Regions from separate parts of the Homo sapiens genome. Here region 2 is linked to region 1. Evidence: promoter capture Hi-C in 16 types of primary human blood cells and fetal thymus (Javierre and others, 2016). All regions are on one chromosome and are shown on one strand. Each heading gives the region's core, a stretch centred on a gene start or on the middle of the fragment in contact. The rest is flanking DNA. Distances are from core to core; before and after follow the strand shown.

The links. The method cuts DNA at HindIII sites, captures the fragments that hold promoters and counts their contacts. A CHiCAGO score of 5 or more calls a contact.
Region 2: a fragment that was not itself captured here is called in contact with the fragment with the promoter of RPS25 in region 1 in 2 of 17 cell types (naive CD8 T cells and naive B cells); the score reaches 5.7 in naive CD8 T cells.

What each region holds. Positions count from the first base shown.
Region 1 is chr11:119,013,729-119,019,768 of GRCh38, forward strand. It overlaps RPS25 (ribosomal protein S25), which reads right to left and starts at 4,615. Exons shown (of 5, transcript NM_001028.3): 1 at 4,554-4,615; 2 at 4,230-4,325; 3 at 3,634-3,817; 4 at 2,113-2,211; 5 at 1,989-2,030. The coding sequence starts at 4,556. The coding sequence ends at 2,117. It overlaps TRAPPC4 (trafficking protein particle complex subunit 4), which reads left to right and starts at 5,038. Exons shown (of 5, transcript NM_016146.6): 1 at 5,038-5,242; 2 at 5,415-5,589. The coding sequence starts at 5,068. CENATAC (centrosomal AT-AC splicing factor) reads left to right here. Exons shown (of 11, transcript NM_198489.3): 9 at 1,266-1,355; 10 at 1,579-1,711; 11 at 1,810-2,065. The coding sequence ends at 1,870. RefSeq lists enhancers at 4,337-4,406, 4,427-4,656, 4,911-5,609 and a silencer at 4,897-5,016. The HindIII fragment of the contact is 1,015 bases long and covers 4,547-5,561 here.
Region 2 is chr11:119,282,182-119,287,528 of GRCh38, forward strand. It overlaps CBL (Cbl proto-oncogene), which reads left to right. Exons shown (of 16, transcript NM_005188.4): 10 at 2,788-2,919; 11 at 3,008-3,385. Among named protein-coding and RNA genes, the nearest start is that of MIR6756, 28 kb to the right of the region's middle. The HindIII fragment of the contact is 1,516 bases long and covers 1,310-2,825 here.

The DNA.
Region 1 (6,040 bases), core at 3,365-5,864:
CTGGGATTACAGGCATGAGCCACCGTGCCCGGACTTTTTTTTTTTTTTTAAATAAAGTTGGCCAAGATAAAGCGTATGTATCGGTAAAAGCCTTATATCCAGAATATATGAAGAACTGTCAACTTGATAAGGAAACAACCCAATAAAAGCATATGAATAATGTTCAACATTAGTCATTAGAGAAATGCAAATTAAAACCACAGTGAAATACCACTACATATGTATTGGAATGGCAGAAATTAAAGACTGATCATGCCAAGTGTTTGGCAGTGTAGAAAAACCAAACCTTCATACACTGCTCTTAGAATGTAAACTGGTACAGTCACTTTGGAAAACAGTTTGGGATACACCTACCACATTATCCAACCGTTCCACCCCTAACTAGAGAAAAGAAAGCCTGTCTACATAGACTTGTACACAAATCTTCAGAACAGCTTCACTTGTAGCAGCTCCAAATTGGAAACAATTCAGATGTCTATCAACAGGCAAATGGATTAACAATGGAATAGTATTCCAGGATGAAGACAGAATTATTGATACGTACGACACAGATGAATCTCAGAAGTCCAGACCTGGCCGGCGTGGTGGCTCATGCCTGTAATCCCGACACTTTGGGAGGCCAAGGCAGGCGGATCACGAGGTCAGGAGTTCAAGACCAGTTTGGCCAACATGGTGAAACCCCATCTCTACTAAAAATTCAAAAATTAGCTGGGCATCGCAGCGCACGCCTGTAATCCCAGCTACTTGGGAGGCTGAGGCAGAATTGTTTGAACCGAGACCTGGGAGGCGGAGGTTGCAGTGAGCTGAGATTGTGTCCAGCCTGGGCTAGAGCGAGACTCCTCTCAAAAAAACAAAAGGCCAGACCCCACCTCAATGTCCACACACAGAAAATCCTAAAAAATACAAACCAATAAAGCAACTGAAAGATCACCGATTGCCTGGACATGAAAATATTTTAATGGGGGCAGTGATACTTACAGGGGGATGTTTGGGGTCTAGATTGTAATGGCTTCGCTCAAAAGTCACCAAATTTAAGTGTGTATCGTTTATGTCAGTTGTGCCTCAAAGCCATTTTAAAATGACTGTCACATATGGGGTATGTCGCTTTAAATTAGCCTAGGGCCTTCTAAAGCTCCAGAATTCCTGGGCTTTGCTTTTAGACATTTCTAGCTCTTAATGAGGAGAGGTAAGCTAACAGCTAGGACATGTTTCACAATAGCCTGAAGACTTAAAAAAAAAAAAAAAAGCCTTAATTTTTTTTTCAGGTGCCACACCTCCCTGGATGATCCAAGATGAAGAATACATTGCTGGGAACCAAGAAATAGGACCATCCTATGAAGAATTTCTTAAAGAAAGTAAGTAAACTAATTCAAGAGAGGATCGTCTAAATCTTCACACTCAAAAATGGTTTCCTTGCCTGTGTGTGGTGGCTCATGGCTATAATCCTAGCATTTTGGGAGGCTGAGGTGGGAGGGTCACTTGAGCCCAGAAGTTTGAAAACAGCCTGGACAACATAGTGAGACCCCATCTCTATATTCTTCAATAAAGAAAAATAAAAGTTTCCCTATCATTGTACAGAGGAAAAACAGAAGTTGAAAAAACTCCCCCCAGACCGAGTTGGGGCCAACTTTGATCACAGCTCCAGGACCAGTGCAGGCTGGCTGCCCTCTTTTGGCCGCGTCTGGAATAATGGACGCCGCTGGCAGTCCAGGTATGTGTGTTCAGTGCCGGGTCTCCAACCTACCCATCCAACCTCCTTTTTGGAGATGTCACCCTTCATCATCGTGTTAACCCTTTATTTCCTTTCAGACATCAATTCAAAACTGAAGCTGCAGCAATGAAGAAGCAGTCACATACAGAAAAAAGCTAATCATGCTCTCTACCAACTACCATGAGGCTAAAAGCAAAGTCAACAAACCCCTATTATACCTTCCACCAAATTCTTTATCATTGTCTTTCTTAGGAAACAGACATACTCATTCATTTGATTTAATAAAGTTTTATTTTTCCAAATGTACAGCTGGTTGGACCTGTAAAAAAAAATTAAAAGAATCAGAACCATAAAGCTTTGTATCTACCTCCTACACCATGAGCCCACACATTCCTACTCACCTATTCATGCATCTTCACCAGCAGCTGGAGCATCTCCACCCTTGGTATTTCTGGTGTAAATTACTTGAGCTCTGTGCTTTGAAACCAGTTTGATAAGTCCTAGGGGGAGAGAATAGCACGATGAGATGCTTAACAGATGCTACAATAGAAACTAGTAAGGTTTTTGGCTGGGCGCGGTGGCTCATGCTTATAATCCCACTGCTTTGGGAGGTGGAGACGGGCAGATAGCTTGAGGTAAGGAGTTGCACACCAGCCTGGCCAACAAGGTGAAACCCCATCTCTACCAAAAATACAAAAATTAGCTGGGCATGGTGGCACATGCTTGTAATTCCAGCTACTTGGGAAGCTGAGGTGAGGACCACCTGAACCCAGGAATTGGTGGTTGCATTGAGCCAAGACTGCCCCTCCGCACTCCAACCTGGGCAACAGAATGAGACTCTAGTAAGGTTTGTTTTGGCCGGGTGCAGAGGCTCATGCCTGTAATCCCAGCACTTTGGACAGGTGGATCTCTTGAGCCCAGGAGACCAGCCTGGGCAACATGGCAAAACCGCATCTCTATTTAAAGAAAAGGAAAACAAAAAGACAGAGTTCTCTCAGAGGTGCCCAGAATGGTCTTAAAACTCCTTGGCTCAAATGATCCTCCTGCTTTGGCCTCCCAAGTAGCTAGAAATACAAGGGTACCACTGCACCTGGCTCCAGAATTGCTTAATCTGACGTTCGGTAACCGAGAATCCTAGTTTTTAACGATCATCTATCCTTACTTTTCCTTTAAATTAGGGCTCCATTATCTTCCACCCCCCCCCCCTTTCTGAGACAGTCTTTTGCTGTCACTAAGGCTGGAGTGCAGTGGTGTCATCTCGGCTCACTGCCACCTCCATCTCCTGGGTTCAAGGGATCCTCATGCCTCAGCATCCTGAGTAGCTGGGATTACAGACGTGTGCCCCCACGTCCAGCTAACTTTCAGTAGAGCAGGTTTTCACCATATTGGCCAGGCTGGTCTTTAACTCCTGACCTCCGTTGATTCACCCGCCTTGGCCTCCCAAAGTGCTAGAATTATAGACGTTCAGTCACTATAGTTAGCTGAGCCTTATTATTGTGGAATTATGGTAATCAGACCATACTACTGAGTAGACCGTACTAAATTTCTGGTTTTAAAATTTAATACATCAACAAAATATTTACCATAAAGGTTTTAAACATTTTCAAAGTTGTTTCAAAATAGTAATCTAATTATTTCAAAAACGGTTGTCCCTGTAATTCTATGCATCCATTTACTCGAAACATAAAAGATCCTTGGGCTTCACTAAACTGCCACAGGGTCCACGGCACAAAAGTGGCTAAGAACCCTGAGAATTCATCTCAGGATCAGGAGTAAGACGTCAGAATTACATTACTAACAGCCAATGGTCAAGCCACGCTTTTTTTTTTTAATTCTGCTTTTCCAGCAAAACCACTGAAGATGCTTAACATGGTCAAGACAATTTAACCTACAAAAACACACATGTAGGATACACCCCTCACCTTTACTAAGGAGCTCCTGAAGGGCTGCCCTGGCCAGGGAGCCTCGAATCTTCAGTCTCTCAGAGACCACAGCTGGGGTTATAAGTTTATAGTTGGGAACTTCCTTACAGAGTTTATCATAGGTAGCTTTGTCAAACAAGACTAAGTTATTGAGCTTGTCCCGAACTTTGCCTTTGGACCACTTCTGCTCACCAAAACAAAACAGAAACAAGTTAGTATTTCTGGCAGAAGCACCCTTTCCCTCTCGAGTAATCTGCGTCAGAGAAATCTGTTCCACCGTTATCAAGGATAAATTACACATTACTAAAACAAAAACAAAAAAAAAACACCGACACGTTTTTGGCCTTCAAACAGGGGCCGAGCCCCACTAGATCAGTTAAAAATAACACAGCAGGCACAGCGGCAGACACTTCGCACAACAGACCCATTTTCATGATCCTAATGGGAAAAAGAACGAGTGGTGACGGGAAGATAAACTCTCACATTTTGACTCTAGAAATCTACACCTGAAAAACCACTTACTATACAAGTTACCTATTACTAGAGGATTACGAGAGAGTTACCCCTAGTCTCTTTCAGAGAGGTCTTATTTCTACCTTCTTTTTGGCCTTGCCCCCGGATTTGTTCACTGGGTCTTTGTCTTTCTTGGCCGACTTTCCAGCGTCCTTCTTCTTCTTGTCGTCCTTAGGCGGCTGTAGGAGGGCAGCGGGAATGCAACCAGGTCCTCAAATAGCGCCAAAGTCCCCTAATACTGCGCCCTCAGCCCCCGCAAACTCCACCACCAGAGCACATGGGCCAAGCAATAACCGCGCCCGCCCTGCAACCGAGGCCGGCAGGCCAAGGAGCGCTCCCGCCGAAGGCTCTCCCCACTGAGTCCTCAAACCCAAGAACGCCGGCGACTTCACACCCCTGAAGCTTACCATTGCGAAGCTCGGAGAATAGCAGCAGACACCGCAGCCTCGTCAAGATGTCGGACAAAAAGGAAGCGCTGCTCAGAAACGGGCCCAAAAACCACCGTCCGCTGTGAGTACTTCCGGGGCAAAAGGCGGAGCCAGGCAGAAGAAGTCCCACGGCGAAGCGCTCGCCCTCTAGCCTGAGGCGGAAGACAGGAAGTGGATTCTAGTTCCCAAGCCGCACCGCCTAAATACTGCCGGAGTCTGCGCTAGTTGTGACGCATACTATAGCGCTGTTTTCCTGCACTGATAAACGAAAAGCAATCCACCAGGTCTCGGCAGCTAACTTTCCGGCACTACTTATGCCCGAGCGTGTCGCTCCCAGTGCGCAAGTGCAGCAGGTGGCTGCACGGGGGGCGCGGGAGGAGGAGGAGGAGGAGGAGGAGGCTGGGGTGGGGCCGGCGGCAAGTGCTGTGATGCGGTTCCGGGGAGGGGCCGTCGGGTAGAGGCTGAATACCAGTTTCCGAGCGGCAAGGCAGCGATGGCGATTTTTAGTGTGTATGTGGTGAACAAAGCTGGCGGCTTGATTTACCAGTTGGACAGCTACGCGCCACGGGCTGAGGCTGAGAAAACTTTCAGTTATCCGCTGGATCTGCTGCTCAAGCTACACGATGAGCGTGTGTTGGTTGCTTTCGGCCAGCGGGACGGCATCCGAGGTGGGCTAGGCTCGGGCCCGTGGCGGGTGCGGGGGTGGGAGGGCCCCAGTGCTGTAGAAGTGGGCTGGTTGTAGGTGCGGGGTTGGGGGAAAAGGGGTTGTGTCGGGTCCCTTGTCCCCTCGGCGGAATCCCCGGGCTGCACCTTCGCTGACCGTTAGCTTCACCTCTGCAGTGGGTCATGCAGTGCTGGCCATCAATGGCATGGACGTGAATGGCAGGTACACGGCCGACGGGAAAGAGGTGCTGGAGTATCTGGGTAACCCTGCTAATTACCCGGTGTCCATTCGATTTGGCCGGCCCCGCCTCACTTCTAATGAGAAGCTTATGCTGGCCTCCATGTTCCACTCGTAAGTCCCCCGTCTCCTGAACGGCAGCGCTTGTAATTTGTCTACCTTTTCTTAAATCGTCGTTCTGGTGTTATGAAAAACGCAACCGATCCAGATCTAGATTTTAGGTAATAACGGCAGTGGTGTCATCTTTTTTTGCTGGGTGGGGAGGGGCCGCGGAGTTACCCAGGCTGGAGCGCAGTGGCGGGATCTCGGCTCACTGCAGCCTCTGCCTCCCAGGTTCAAGCGATTCTCCTGCCTCAGCCTCCCGAGTAGCTGGGATTACAGGCGCGTGCCACCACGACCAGCTAATTTTTGTATTTTTAGTAGAGAGGGGTTTTGCCATGTTGGCCAGGCTGGTCTCAAACTCCTGACCTCAGGTGATCCACCTGCCTCGGCTTCCCAAAGTGCTGGGATTACAGGAGTGAGCCACCGCGCCCGGCCGAGGTGTCATCTTACTTAAAGTCAACTT
Region 2 (5,347 bases), core at 818-3,317, 270 kb after region 1:
ACGAAAATTAGCCAGGCATGGTGGCGCATGCCTATAATCCCAGTTACTTGGGAGGCTGAGGCCAGAGAATGGCTTGAACCTGGGAGGCAGAGGTTGCAGCGAGCTGAGATCGCACTATTTCACTCCAGCCTGGGCAACAAGAGTGAGACTCCATCTCAAAAAAAAAAAAAAAGACTATTGCAAGGATCCATTATGATGTTGAGACATGAATGTAAAAATATGATTAGTTCAACCCTCTGTGCCTAAGGAATGAGAGAAAGATTGATGATCGGCAGAGAGGGCCTTCCAGAATGGGGAAAGGATTTAAAGAATGATACGGAAGTCGAAATAATCATTAGAATGTGCAGGAAACACTGAGGAGATGAGCCTGAATAGAGCAGCGTTGATGCTTGTTAGGGAGTTGTGGGAAATACCTTTCTTTGGTTGCAGAGACCAGATTAGAAAGACTTGTGAAAGCTGGGCAGGAGGGTGAGATTTTGTAACAGGGCAAATTGGGAGTTACTGGTGGTTTTTGAGTTGGTGAGTGTTTAAGAATGGCTAAGCTGATAGTGGTAAGCAGAAGGATGTGGTGAGATAAACTACAAGTTGGGAAGTTCACTAGGTTGTTTTAATAAATCACGGCCACCCGCGGTGGCTCACGCCTGTAATGCCAGCCCTTTGGGAGGCCAAGGCAAGGAGGATCACTTTAGCCCAGAGGTTTGAGTCCACCCTGGGCAACATGACAAGACCCCGTCTACCCGTGCCTTCCCCGCGCCCCAAAAAAAAAAAAGCCACATGTGGTGGCGCACAGCTTGTCCCAGCTACTTGAGAGGCTGAGGCAGGAGGATGGCTTGAGCCCAGGAGGTCAAGGCTGCAGTGCACCATGTTTGTGCCACTGCAGTCCAGCCTGGGCTACAGAGCAAGACCCTGTCTCCCATAAATAAGTAAGGTCTGGGGTTGGTAAGTAGAATGAAATGAAATATACAGGTATGAGAATCTTTTAGGGAAAAATCAGCAGGATATAGCTACTGACAAAATAATTATGATGAAGTGAGAGGAGGCTTGACTAGTAACTTTGACTTTTGTCATTGAGCTGTTTAGCTGCTCATGCTGCATTGTCAGCTAATTGGGAACCCGTTATCTTAAGCATGTGGATAAAGCAAAGAGTTAAAGATGAGAGCTTTTCTGTCATCCACCACCCAGCACTAATAACATGACTAAATATGGCTGTTTTTCTGTCAGTGTTGCTTTGCTGTTGGGGAATTTAAATGCAGAGTAGCATTTTTTTTTTAATGAATTACTGTGTATCTCTTGACAGCTTACTTTGACAAGCTTATCAGCTATTCCTAAGCCTGCTATAGGCAGGGAAATGGAAAAGGTTATATATGTGTTCTTTCTTCTAATTTGGTACCTCATTTTTTAGAGCTCAAATTGACAGAAAATATTAATCCTTTTTAATTCTTTCTTTTTTTTTTTTTTTTTTTTTTTTTTTTTTGAGATGGAGTCTTGCTCTTTTGCCCAGGCTGGAGTGCAGTGGCGCTATCTCGGCTCACTGCAAGCTCCGCCTCCCGGGTTCATGCCATTCTCCTGCCTCAGCCTCCTGAATAGCTGGGACTACAGGCGCCCGCCACCACACCTGGCTAATTTTTTGTATTTTTAGTAGAGACGGGGTTTCACCGTGTTAGCCAAGATGGTCTCGATCTCCTGACCTCGTGATCCACCCGCCTCAGCCTCCCAAAGTGCTGCGATTACAGGCGTGAGCCACCACGCCTGGCCTTAATTATTGAATTGAAATAATTTATTTCTTTGGAAGGACTCAAGATGCTTTTTAGTGATATTCTTGATCATTTTTCTTTACAAATTCACCTTAAAAAAATTTTTAGTTAAAATTTTTTAGAGGGATCTCACTATGTTGACAAGGCTGGTCTTGAACTCCTGGCCTCAAGCAATCCTCCTGCCTCCCCAAATGCAGGATTACAGGTGTGAGCCACTGTACCGACTCTCATCTTCTTTCTTACCTTAATAACCCATAGAGAATTCACCGTCATCGATCTCTTTCTTTATTATGTCCCTTAAACATTGTTTTCCCAGGTACTTTGTTAAGAGGTTAATATCTGCACCCCCCGCCCCACTGCCATCCTTTTTTTTTATTTTATTTTTGTCGAGACAGGCTCTTGCTCTGTTGCCCAGGCTGGAGTACAGTGGCTAGATTATGGTTCACTGCAGTCTCAAACTCCTAGGCTCAAGCAGTCTTCCTGTTTTAGCCTCCCAAATAGCTGTGTGCCACCATGGCCCAGCTAATTTTTTATTTTATTTTTTGTAGAGATGGGGTCTCATTATGTTGCCCATACTGGTCTCGAACTCCTGCCTCCCAAAATGTTAGTATTACAGGTGTGGGCCACTGTGCATGGCCTGCCCCTTACTTTTTATATGGATTCCTATTTTTAATCTTGAAAAGATTTTTTTCTTTCTCCAAAGATGAGGGGGTAGAAAACTGTTGTAATTTTTAAAGTTGTAAACTAGGAAACTTTTTGTAGCCCTGTCCTTTCTAGATAGATTACCTGTAGCTTGCCATGGGTATGGTGTTTCTGTGATTGAGAGTGCCCTCTTATGGTGACACAAAAATTATTCAGGAAGTGCTAGAGTCTCTGGAAGTTTTTTAAGAGGGTGTGTGCGACCTCAAACCTAGGTCTGGCCCATTTGTAGTTTAAGTGTTCCCATGGTATTTGCCATCCACAGCTTTAGGAGAGTTGAAAGATGCCATTTCCCCAAACGAAAGTAATCTGTTAAATTTTTTATGTACCCTAGGTGGAACGGCCGCCTTCTCCATTCTCCATGGCCCCACAAGCTTCCCTTCCCCCGGTGCCACCACGACTTGACCTTCTGCCGCAGCGAGTATGTGTTCCCTCAAGTGCTTCTGCTCTTGGAACTGCTTCTAAGGTAAAGCATTTTCCATTACTGCAGTTTTTGGATTCTTTGCTGTGTACTAGTGGGTTTTTACTGATTTGCTTTCACCCTGCTTCCACAGGCTGCTTCTGGCTCCCTTCATAAAGACAAACCATTGCCAGTACCTCCCACACTTCGAGATCTTCCACCACCACCGCCTCCAGACCGGCCATATTCTGTTGGAGCAGAATCCCGACCTCAAAGACGCCCCTTGCCTTGTACACCAGGCGACTGTCCCTCCAGAGACAAACTGCCCCCTGTCCCCTCTAGCCGCCTTGGAGACTCATGGCTGCCCCGGCCAATCCCCAAAGTACCAGTATCTGCCCCAAGTTCCAGTGATCCCTGGACAGGAAGAGAATTAACCAACCGGCACTCACTTCCATTTTCATTGCCCTCACAAATGGAGCCCAGACCAGATGTGCCTAGGCTCGGAAGCACGTTCAGTCTGGATACCTCCATGGTGAGTCTTAATTTTGAAACTATCTAACCTGTTAAGAAATATGTGTGGGCCAGGCACAGTGGCTCATGTCTGTAATCCCAGCAATTTGGGAGGCCAAGGTGGGTGGATCGCTTGAGCCGAGGATTTCGAGACCAGCCTGGGGGACGTAGTGAAACCCTGTCTCTACAAAAATTACAAAAATTAGCTGGGCGTGGTGGCACTTGCCTGTAATTCCAGCTACTCGGGAGGCTGAGGTGGGAATATTGCTTGGGCCCAGGAGGCCAAGCTTTCAGTGAGCCATGATGGCGCCACTGCACTCCAGCCTAGGCAATAGAGTAAGACCCTGTCTTGAAAAAAAAGAAGAAAGAAAAAGAAATATGTGTGGATAGAAGTTTATGGGTTGAAATTTTGTGATAAGTTTTATATGGAATTCAGAGATGCTATAACATAATTCCTACCCTCAAGAAATATGGCTGGGCGTGGTGGCTCACACCTGCAATCACAGCACTTTAGGAGGCCGAGGCGGGTGGATCACCTGAGGTCAGGAGTTTGAGACCACCCTGGCTAACATGATGAAACCCCGTCTCTACTAAAAATACAAAAAATTAACTGGGCCTGGTGGTGGGTGTCTGTAATTCCAGCTACTCAGGAGGCTGAGGCAGGAGATTCATTTGAACCTGGAGGCAGAGGTTGCAGTGAGCTGAGATCAGGTGATTGCACTCCAGCCTGGGCAACAAGAGTGAAACTTTGTCTCAAAAAAAAAATGTGTATATTCACAGACCAGATGAGGCAGTTTGTAAATATTGCAGTAAATGTCCTTTCATAAATGCCATTTGTAATCTAACTAGAAAACACTTAAGTTTTAGAGAAATAAGAGGTTATTCCCAGATAGGGCAATCATGAGAACTTTATAGAAGGAGTGGCATCTGAGATCTGAAGTATTTCTTTGGAAAGTGGATACGGTTTTCAGATTGATAACAGCCACAATGACAGAAATGCCTAAGGTGTATTGTGGAATGATGATTAGGTTATTTTAAGTAGAGCAGAAATTTTGTCAGTAGGAGAAAGAACTGGAAAGGAACATCACACTAGATTAGAGAGAGTTGAATACCCTCTCCCAAAAGAATTTTAATTTGTATGGTAGGAAATGAAGAGCATTTGAAGGGGGTAGGTTATTGGTCCTTTGTCTAAATATGCAAGAAAGGGTCCAGAACTGAGAGGTGGGAGAGGAATATTTGATGTTTTGTTCATTTATGCACTTAACAAAAAGTCTTGCCCTCACAAAGTTTATATTCTAATGGGAGGAAGATGGAATATAAACATGTTAATTGAATAACATAGTATGTTCACAGTCACAAGTGCTATGGAGAAAAATAGCCCAAAGAAGGGTATAGAGAAAGCTGGCATAGGAGTGGGAGGTATGTGAAGTTATAGAGTACAATTCTGAGCAGAAACCTGTAGCAGTAGGAGGATGTGCCATGCTGATCCCAGGGGAGATTATTCCAGGATGAAGGAAAAAGCAAGTGAGTTTGGGAGAGACTGAAGAATAACAAAGGGGTTTAATATAGCCAGTACTAAATGAGCAAGAGAGAGAATCATTGTTTATGAGCAGAGTGGGCAGCCAGATGATTAGGTCGAAGCCTTTCGAGAGCATGAAATAAAGACTTGTTAAGGCTTGAAAAGCAGTCAGTGGGTGGAAAAAAAGGTAAGTACCACACGTGCACTGCATGCGCGTAAAAACGAAACTTTTACCTGGCTGACTGTTGCATTTGAAATGAGCAGTTGATGGAAGCATCAGCAAGTAGGCAGTCAGAAATCCAAGGAGGCAGAATGGGAAGAGTGAAGTTGAGAAGTGTTGTGGCACTAAGTGAATGGCATCTCTTGGTTGCAGAGAAAGGGTAATGCTCAAGTGGTACCTGTGGGGTGGATAGCCTAATTAGTGAGTGTGGATTAGGTTTGACTTTCTGGCAGCATCAGTATAGA